3 separate regions of the Homo sapiens genome follow, and all the other regions are linked to region 1. The links are contacts of gene promoters, found by promoter capture Hi-C in blood cells and fetal thymus (Javierre and others, 2016). All regions are on one chromosome and are shown on one strand. Each heading gives the region's core, a stretch centred on a gene start or on the middle of the fragment in contact. The rest is flanking DNA. Distances are from core to core; before and after follow the strand shown.

Region 1 (2,930 bases), core at 294-2,793:
AACTCTTCCTCTCCCATCCTCCTCTCCAGCCATTCAGCTTTTCTTAGTTCTCTAAATACCATGCCATTTCAGGCCTCCCTTCCTCTGCACATGCTATTACTGCTCCTTTACTCCTCTAACTAGTACTTCAAAGGTAGGCTTAAGTATCACCACTTCAAGAAAATGCCTCATGTATATCTCAGTCACACTGAATGGAAGTTAATGATTTGTCTGTAAACCAGAAGTTCCTACAGCAGGGTCCACCAACCTTATTTGGTTTGTAGCACCAATGACTGGCACAAAGTATGCAATCATTCACAGATGGGTTCGATTTGATATCTTCTAAATTTTCTAAAAAAGGGAGAGGAGCTTAGTGGGCTTTATATCACCATTCCGGTATAGCACAAAGTGAGAGCGCTGTACTACAAAGCCAAATGTGCTTCAGGTTGGAAATGCAAAAATAAAATAAAATAAAATAAAATAAAATAAAACACAAGGCACACCCTTTCAAAATGAAATGTACGAAATTCTGAAAGCCTATATAGTATCTAATAAACCAGCCTTGGAACTTTATACTACTTGGGGAAAGGCTTATTAAACACTTTGATGATAAAAATAGGTGGAAGGCTTCAATAAAGCAAATTAACCTTTCTTGGCTATGTCACTGTAATTTTAGTTCCTAATGTAGATTCTCGTTCACTTCCTGACAGGTTATTTTCCTTCTTTGAGAGAGTCTTACCTCAAGAGTCACTCATTTGTCAGCCATTTGTTCTCAAAATCTGAATGGGGGAAATGCAGATGAAAGAAGGGAGAGTGTGGGGGGATGATCAACACTTTCGGAATGGGAGGTAGCAGAAGGCCACAGTCTCCGGGATGGAAGAGAGTGGGAGCTGGGGCAATACCAGAGTGGAGCGCTGACATGTGGCAAGGAACGGGGAGGATGCGATCACGGAGCAGGCAACATGAAACAGGGAACGACCCCAGGCTGAAGATGGGAGACGGAGAAGATACTCAGAGAGAAAGCTAGGAATGTGTGGGGGTGGGGGGAGGGAGGGAGAAAGCGGTGATAGGCAGAGGCGAGAGGAAACAAGACGCAGTTTTTAGCCAGGGGTCAGAGGGCCTAAGGAGAAAAGCTGGGTCGAGAGGAAGACAACACAAATGGGGCTTCAGGACGAGGTGGGCAGGGTGTCATCCCGGAGCGGAGGGGAGGCACGGGGAGAACTGGGGGTCCAGAGGGCAGAGGCAGGAGGCGCAGAGCGAGTAGGAGACTCGAACCCGTGAGCAGAGGCCGCGGGTGACGAGGGAAGGAAGGGCGAGGCCAGAGAGGCACTTACTGGGGTCCCTCCGCAAGGCGCCGCTGAGGATCTCCTCCCGCAGGTGAGGAAAGAGGAAGTCCCGGGCGGCCTGGAGGTCCTGGAAGTAGCAGAACTGGACAATGGAGCAGGCCATGGCTCCAGGGAACCCCACTACGGCACTCACCTTACCTCACCACGCCCTGCCCCCTCCACCCCACTGCGGCCGCCACCGAGCCCCAATAGCTCTAGCCAAGCAGAAGGCGGAGAAACCAAACCGGAAGCTGTCACTGACACGGGTCCGCTGTCTCCGAGTACTGCGCAGGCGCAGGCTGGCCCAGGCGCCTAGGGCGCGGGGGCCCGGGTCACGTGACTACGGCGCCGCCGCTGCAGGTGGAGCCAAAGTCGACGTGGAGGCTTGGGGCAGATTTTTCAGTCCCAGTTGTGTGTCTACGCCGAGGCATGAACCCTTTCATTCATTCTGGCTTTTAGCCAGAGGTGTTCTAATTGGACTTGTCCGCGCAGCCCTTTGACTTATTCAGTCTTATTGGTCCCCTACTATTGGCACGATCCTGATGTTTCACAGAAACTAATTCGTTTTAAACTAGTGGCAGGCCAGTGGGGGACCGTATCCTGCAAGAGTCGGATTTTGAAAAGATTAATTGCTCTTCCGGAGATTAGCCCCGTCAAGGCTGGCTTTAAATGCTCCTACTATAGATTCCCATAGTACTACGCAAGCCCAATATAGTACGTGTTATAGTGTATTATACACTTTTGTTTTCATTATTCATTTGGTTTTTCATTCATGCATTCATCCATCCATTCAACAAATATTTGTTAGTCTTTTAAATGCCAGCCACGCAGGGTGCTGAGCATTAGAGAACAAAAGAGAAGAAGTACCTTTTCCCAGAAAGCTGGAATTCTAGTGACTGATACAGGCAGTAAGCAATTAATTACAGTATTTCCCTTTAATCCAAGGGGATATGTTTTAAGATCCCCAGTGGATGACTCAAACCATGGATAGTACTGAAACCTATGTATGTGTATTATGTTTTTACCTATACATATATATGATAAAGTTAAATTTATAAATTAGGCACAGTGAAAGATTAACAATAACTAATAATTAAATTGAATAATTATGTGGAAAATGAACCCATGGATAAAGGGGGGACTACTGTACTTAACTATTTAACTGAAATTGTGATCATGCTAGTAAGTGCTTCATAAATATTTGCTGAAGAAATAAATGGAATGCATACATAAAGTAAATAGAATAACTTGTTTCTTTGACAAAGCACTATTTTTGAAAGTACTTTACATTGTTCATTTGGATAGTCACAAATGCCATCTAAAAATAGTGTGTCTTATCCCATTTTTAAAATAAAGAAATTGAGCTGTCTCTGAGCAGACTTTAAGTTATTTTTCCAAAAAATAAAAACAAAAAAAATTATTTTAATGTGAGCACAAAGGCCTGTAGGCACTTACACATTTCCTAAAGGAAACCTAAAGAGGCCATCCACTTTGTATGAAAAAAGGGCACAGGAACAAATGAAAGGCAAGTGGATGGGGTCCAGAGCATTCATTTCTGTCAGGCCCGTGGACATACACACTTAGTCCTAATAATATAACAACTATAATTTAGTGCCCAGGTTCCTA
Region 2 (2,500 bases), core at 1-2,500, about 25 Mb after region 1:
CACAACCTAGTGAAAAGAAAAGAAATGTCATTTCACTGTCAGTAGACACCACCTAATAATTCTTTAAATATTGTTAAGGCCAATTTAAATATCTAAGTTTTCATAGCCCTTACACTAACGGACAAAAATTTGTTTATGGAAAGATTAACAGTCAACATAAGGGGGAAACAATTACTTAAGAGCAATATGCACAGCACAAAGTAAATGAAACAGACTAATCATCTAGTTCTTCTAAATGTCATTTTGTGCCAGGCAAGCAATATTCAAATGCCACAGTTAAAAAAAAAAAAATCCCTTACTTCACAATCTTTCTTCTCTTCAGGCCCCTTTGGTCCTCTAACTCGATCCTCTAAGGGGACGTTCTGGATGAAAGTATACTCTTCAGGTATTGGAAAATATGGCTTTTCCTTCTGACCAAAATTAAATTCAACTGCACAGTTGTGGCAGAGAACATGCGGGAACAGTGGCCGTCCAGCAAGAACTTCCTTACTGATTTTGAAGGCAACGCCAAGATCTTGTCCATTCTTAGCATACGAGAGTTCTACTTCATCACTTTCAAAGTTCTGTTACACAGAAAAAAATTCAACAGTTAAAATCTGCTTCCTTAAACTTTCTAAAAAACTAAGAATTAAAATTAGGAGCAAAGCTTATCCTGTGGAAGCTACAGGTTAAAGAACTATTAGGTGGCCTTTAAGGGCTACACAGTTAAGAAATCTGATGGTTGTAAACCATGAAGCACGTATCTCCAGAACCAGAAACAATACTGACCTAGAAGCTAGACTGAATTTTCTAGGTCAATTTCATGTTCACTGTTTTCAGTCAAAATGAATTAGTGAGTTCCTCAAAAATGTCCTGTGTTTTCCCAATTCAACTGCTGAATGAAGTCTTTACACTAATCCAGGGACTGGTGTATTTTGTTGCTCATATTGAAAACTGACCTCAGTAAAGCTTCTTTAAAGTTCCTAGATATAGCTACTAACTTTGCCATTTATACATAGAAAGTTAGCTTTAACTTACAGCAAAACATGTAATCACATCATTTTCATCAAACTTTTCTCCATAATCTTCAGTCTCACAGTTGCATGTTTTTATTCCTTTTAGAGAATACCCATAAGAAAATTCTTCTTCACCTAAGAAAATAATTAATCTTCATGAAGTAGATGTTTAAAATAGTCCAAAGACTCATCTATTTTACTACTTAAGATGTAGGCTACAAGAGAAATAAGCATATAACCTAATCACCTGTCACTGACACTATTACTTTTCTATCTCTGTACCAGAATTGATGGAAGTTAGGAGGGATATATACGCAGAGACCAAATTAGTTGACGATTTGCATATCACGGGTAAGATTTTATTTCAACCATTGGTCATAAACTTCTAATAAAGGAACAAAAACTAAAATGTAGCCTGTGCCTACTATGTGCTAATATTACCTGTCTGAAGTATTAACAGAATAGATAAAAACAGACAAAAGGCTTAGAATGCCCTCTAGTTAAAAAACACTGAAATCAGACCCTCCTGAACATTCATGAGCCCACATCAGTCAAAAAGAAGCTTTACCAAGTAACATTCCACTTGTAGTTAGTGACCAGCCAATACGAACTTCATGTATGTCAATATCTTTTGTATATAAATGCCTTACTGGGATCTTCTCTGTAACCTGAAAGTCAAATCATTAAATAATTAAAATAATACACCAAGGAGGTAACCCCTTAACTCTCGCATATTTCATTGCGCCACGGGCTAATCTTCCTCTAGCTATAAATACAAAGAAGGCACACTCTAGCCCACCCCCAATATTTGTAAGAACTTTAAACTGATGTGCTTATAACTTGAAATTTAAAGAGTTAAATACTTATTTGACCCATATTTAAAAGAATACTTAATATTTTTAAAGTTCATGTTGTCAGTCTTTAACTTAAAGCCAATTAAAGGATACAATTAATGTTTTTCTCACCAACAAAAGCAGTAATGTAACCAAATTTTATTTTTAACTCTTTGGTGGCCCTTTCAAATGCTTGATAAAAATGAAGTACCCTAAATAAAAAATCGCCTAGCTCTGCATGGCAAGTTCTAACATAACAACCGTGATTAACTGTCACAACAAAATGAAGGTTCCAAGCTCCTCTTTTAATTTACAGGAAGCTTCAAAAATAAGTACCTTTGATAACTTAGCAGTATGAAGCACCTGTAATTCCAGCATTCTGAGAGGCTCAGGCGGGCAGATCACTTGAGCTTAGGAGTTCAAGACCAGCCTGGGCAACATGGTGAGACCTTGTCACTATTTTAAAAAGGAAAAAAAAAGGCTGGGCACAGTGGCTCATGCCTGTAATCCCAGCACTTTGGGACGCCGAGACAGTGGATCACCTGAGGTCAAGAGTTGGCGACCAGCCTGGCCTACGTGGTGAAACCCCATCTCTATTAAAAATACAAAAATTAGCCAGGTGTGGTAGTGTGTGCCTCTAGTCCGAGCTACTTGAGAGACTGAAGCAAGGAG
Region 3 (2,862 bases), core at 163-2,662, about 40 Mb before region 1:
AGTTTCCTTTACTGTAAAAGAAGGGCATTATTTCCTCTGGTGTTCATAGCTCTAAAATTTTTAGATTGTATCAAACAGAAAGGAAGACATACTCAACGAAAACATAAATCAAAGATATTTAGGATTTTATAAAAATCACAATAAAAGTTGTAATACTGCATTTTGCATTGCATCACATTATTATTATTATTATTATTTGAGGTGGAGTTTCTTCGCTCTTGTTGCCCAGGCTGGAGTGCAATGGCGCACAATCTTCGCTCACCGCAACCTCCGCCTCCTCAGCCTCCCGAGTAGCTGGGATTACAGGCATGCGCCACCACGCTCGGCTAACTTAGTAGAGACGGGGTTTCTCCATGTTGGTCAGGCTGGTCTCCAACTCCCGACCTCAGGTGATCCTCCCGCCTCGGCCTCCCAAAGTGCTGGGATTACAGCCGTGAGCAACCACGCCCAGCCCTGCATCACATTATTACAATCCTATTATCTTTTTGGATCTCTATATAGTTTTATTAACTTTACCGTATTTACTTCCATGTGGCCCTCTGGGAAAGAGTAAATGAATGATATATCTTATTTTATCCTCATTTTGTAAAGGTTCTTGGGCTGGTAAAATGCAAGATCACTGAATAAGTCAGAGAAAAAAACACAAAAACAATGTCCAGTGTCCAGCTAAATAAACATCACTCCTAAGAAAGCAAACATCTTTTCCACGTTCAGGATGATGCTCATCCCCAGCAGATGGTCAAAAAAAAAAAAACAAAACAAAATACACATACACAAGCTTCATTACACCTAGCTATTAACCATACATGCTTGCTATCAGTTGTTGAGGAAGAAGGCTCCGTGTCTTTCTCCCCCATCCACCCTCTCCCTGCTACTTTACCTGTTTGTACCTGGCATACAGGTACAAGAGCTGCTCCCTGCTGGCCACCTGAATCAGGCCTTGCAGGTGCGCGGCAGCCTTCTCAAACAGCTCGGCCAGGCAACTGGTCTCCTCGATCTCAGGGCTATGGGGGAACTCCACCTCCCCGGAGTCGTCCCCTGAGCTCAGCTCTCCACCGCTGTCGCCGGTGATGGCCCCCGCGGGCAGGAATGATGAAGCCATGTCTCCTTGCTCGCTCCGTCCCTCTGTGTCCGGTCTGTCCTCCTTGGATTGGGTGTAAGGCCGGCTTGGAGGCCTGGCCCACCAGTCTGGGTCGCGAGCCTGAGCTCCAGTCGGACCCAAGCTCAGTCGCGGCGCGCTCCCTCACGTGACCCTGCTCCCTGCCCACTTCTACTCCCTGGGCGTGCAGAGCAGGCTCCTCGACCCTCTGCCGCTCTGCCCAGTCGACCCGGTCTCCTCCGGCTTCCCTCCGGCCAACAGCGCGCTCAGGCTCGCCTCAGGCCCCTCCAACGGAACAGGAGTCGAGGGGCAGTGAGGCCGGGATGCGTGCGAGCGCGGGGCGCGGCTGGCGCTGGGCCGTGGGGGCGGGGCGGCGTGCGTGCCAGCGGCGTGCGATTCTGTGAGGCCTGCTCTGCGCCGGCGGGGAAGCGCGGGCGACGCTACGCTGGACGTCCTTCCCTGCCGGAGGAGAGAAAGTGCCGTCAGCTGTAGGGGCGTCTTTTAATCGTTTCGCTGAAATTAGCAGTCCCGAGCTCCGGAGCCCGCCACCGGGATGGGCCCCCGGGGGTGGGGGAAGGAGGCCGTTTGTGTGGTAGTGTAGCGGTGAGAGCGGAGTCGCGGGAAACGCGAGGCTGAGGACTAAGGTTCCGCCTGCCCCAGATTGTGCGCCCCAAGCGCCTCCAAACAGCCCTGCGCGCGGATCTGTTGCGTGCGCGTTGGGCTCTGTGTTGAATAATGAAAAACTGCGAGATGGGGCTGTCCCGTCTTACTGTGTGACTGATGAGTGGAATCACTGCTCTGCGTGTTTCGCTCTCCACACCTTCGGAGCCCGCACCTCTCCGGGCCCTGAATAATAGGGTTTGGGGAGTTCGGGGCGCGCCTTAGCCCAGTTCTCATCCCGAGCTCTGTCTTTGACACTGTGCTTTGTAGACACTGTACAGTGAAACCAGAAGTACGGCACAGTTCGGCCCTAGAGGAATGCACAAAACTATTTTTTTAACTGTAACATTATGAGTGGTTATGTCCTAAATGTTAAACACAACGACGCACTATATATTCATTTAGTATTCAAAACAATGTAATAAGCACTATAAGAAGGGTACAAAGAAAGTGTTGTAAACAGTGGTTATTGACTGGGGTTAGGCTTGCGACGGGTGGACGGACGGCTGGACAGGATGAGGAAGCAATGAGAGAACACAGGAAGGTGAGAAAGCTTGCATCAGGATTCAACAGACATTCCTTAAGTCTCCAGAAAGTTCCACTGTTAGTCCCTGCTGTCAAGGTGCTCGCAATCCAGTCAAAGGGATGTTTAATGACCAAATTCTTGCAATTAAAAAGTGATTAAGAATAATGTATTGAGGACTTGATCATTACAACATAAGGTAGGTACTCTTATTTTACTACACATAGGAAATCAGCACAGAGTGGTTAAGTAACTTGTCAAAGGCTACACAGCTAGCAAATGGAGGAGCAAGGAAAAAGAAGTTAGCTTTCATGTGGGGTAATAATGGATGATGAACCCGACAAGTAGACTGAAGGAGATATAACATGGACTTTTATATCTTTGTTTCTAGAATTTTTATTAAAGTGAGAATTGAATATTATCAACGGCTTTTTTGGCATCTTTGGAGATTATCTGCTTTTCTCCTCTAGTCTTCGAAAGGAATTATATTAACAGTTTCTATTTTAATGAATTATATTAACAAAAATAAATTTGGGATTTAATGAATTATATAATAGCTAACATTGATAAATTAGTATGC

Evidence for each region. The method cuts DNA at HindIII sites, captures the fragments that hold promoters and counts their contacts. A CHiCAGO score of 5 or more calls a contact.
Region 2: a contact is called between a fragment that was not itself captured here and the fragment with the promoter of RAB3GAP2 in region 1, in 1 of 17 cell types (activated CD4 T cells). The highest score is 6.1, in activated CD4 T cells.
Region 3: the fragment with the promoter of ACBD6 here is called in contact with the fragment with the promoter of RAB3GAP2 in region 1 in 1 of 17 cell types (non-activated CD4 T cells); the score reaches 7.4 in non-activated CD4 T cells.

What each region holds. Positions count from the first base shown.
Region 1 is chr1:220,270,910-220,273,839 of GRCh38, forward strand. It overlaps RAB3GAP2 (RAB3 GTPase activating non-catalytic protein subunit 2), which reads right to left and starts at 1,544. Exons shown (of 35, transcript NM_012414.4): 1 at 1,314-1,544. The coding sequence starts at 1,428. RefSeq lists an enhancer at 1-139. The HindIII fragment of the contact is 3,718 bases long and covers 1-2,930 here.
Region 2 is chr1:244,857,712-244,860,211 of GRCh38, forward strand. It overlaps HNRNPU (heterogeneous nuclear ribonucleoprotein U), which reads right to left. Exons shown (of 14, transcript NM_031844.3): 5 at 1,564-1,663; 6 at 1,018-1,130; 7 at 300-563; 8 at 1-6. Among named protein-coding and RNA genes, the nearest start is that of SNORA100, 4.7 kb to the left of the region's middle. The HindIII fragment of the contact is 609 bases long and covers 947-1,555 here.
Region 3 is chr1:180,501,165-180,504,026 of GRCh38, forward strand. It overlaps ACBD6 (acyl-CoA binding domain containing 6), which reads right to left and starts at 1,413. Exons shown (of 8, transcript NM_032360.4): 1 at 881-1,413. The coding sequence starts at 1,102. RefSeq lists enhancers at 1-335, 336-851, 959-1,459, 981-1,170 and a silencer at 1,381-1,480. The HindIII fragment of the contact is 1,534 bases long and covers 777-2,310 here.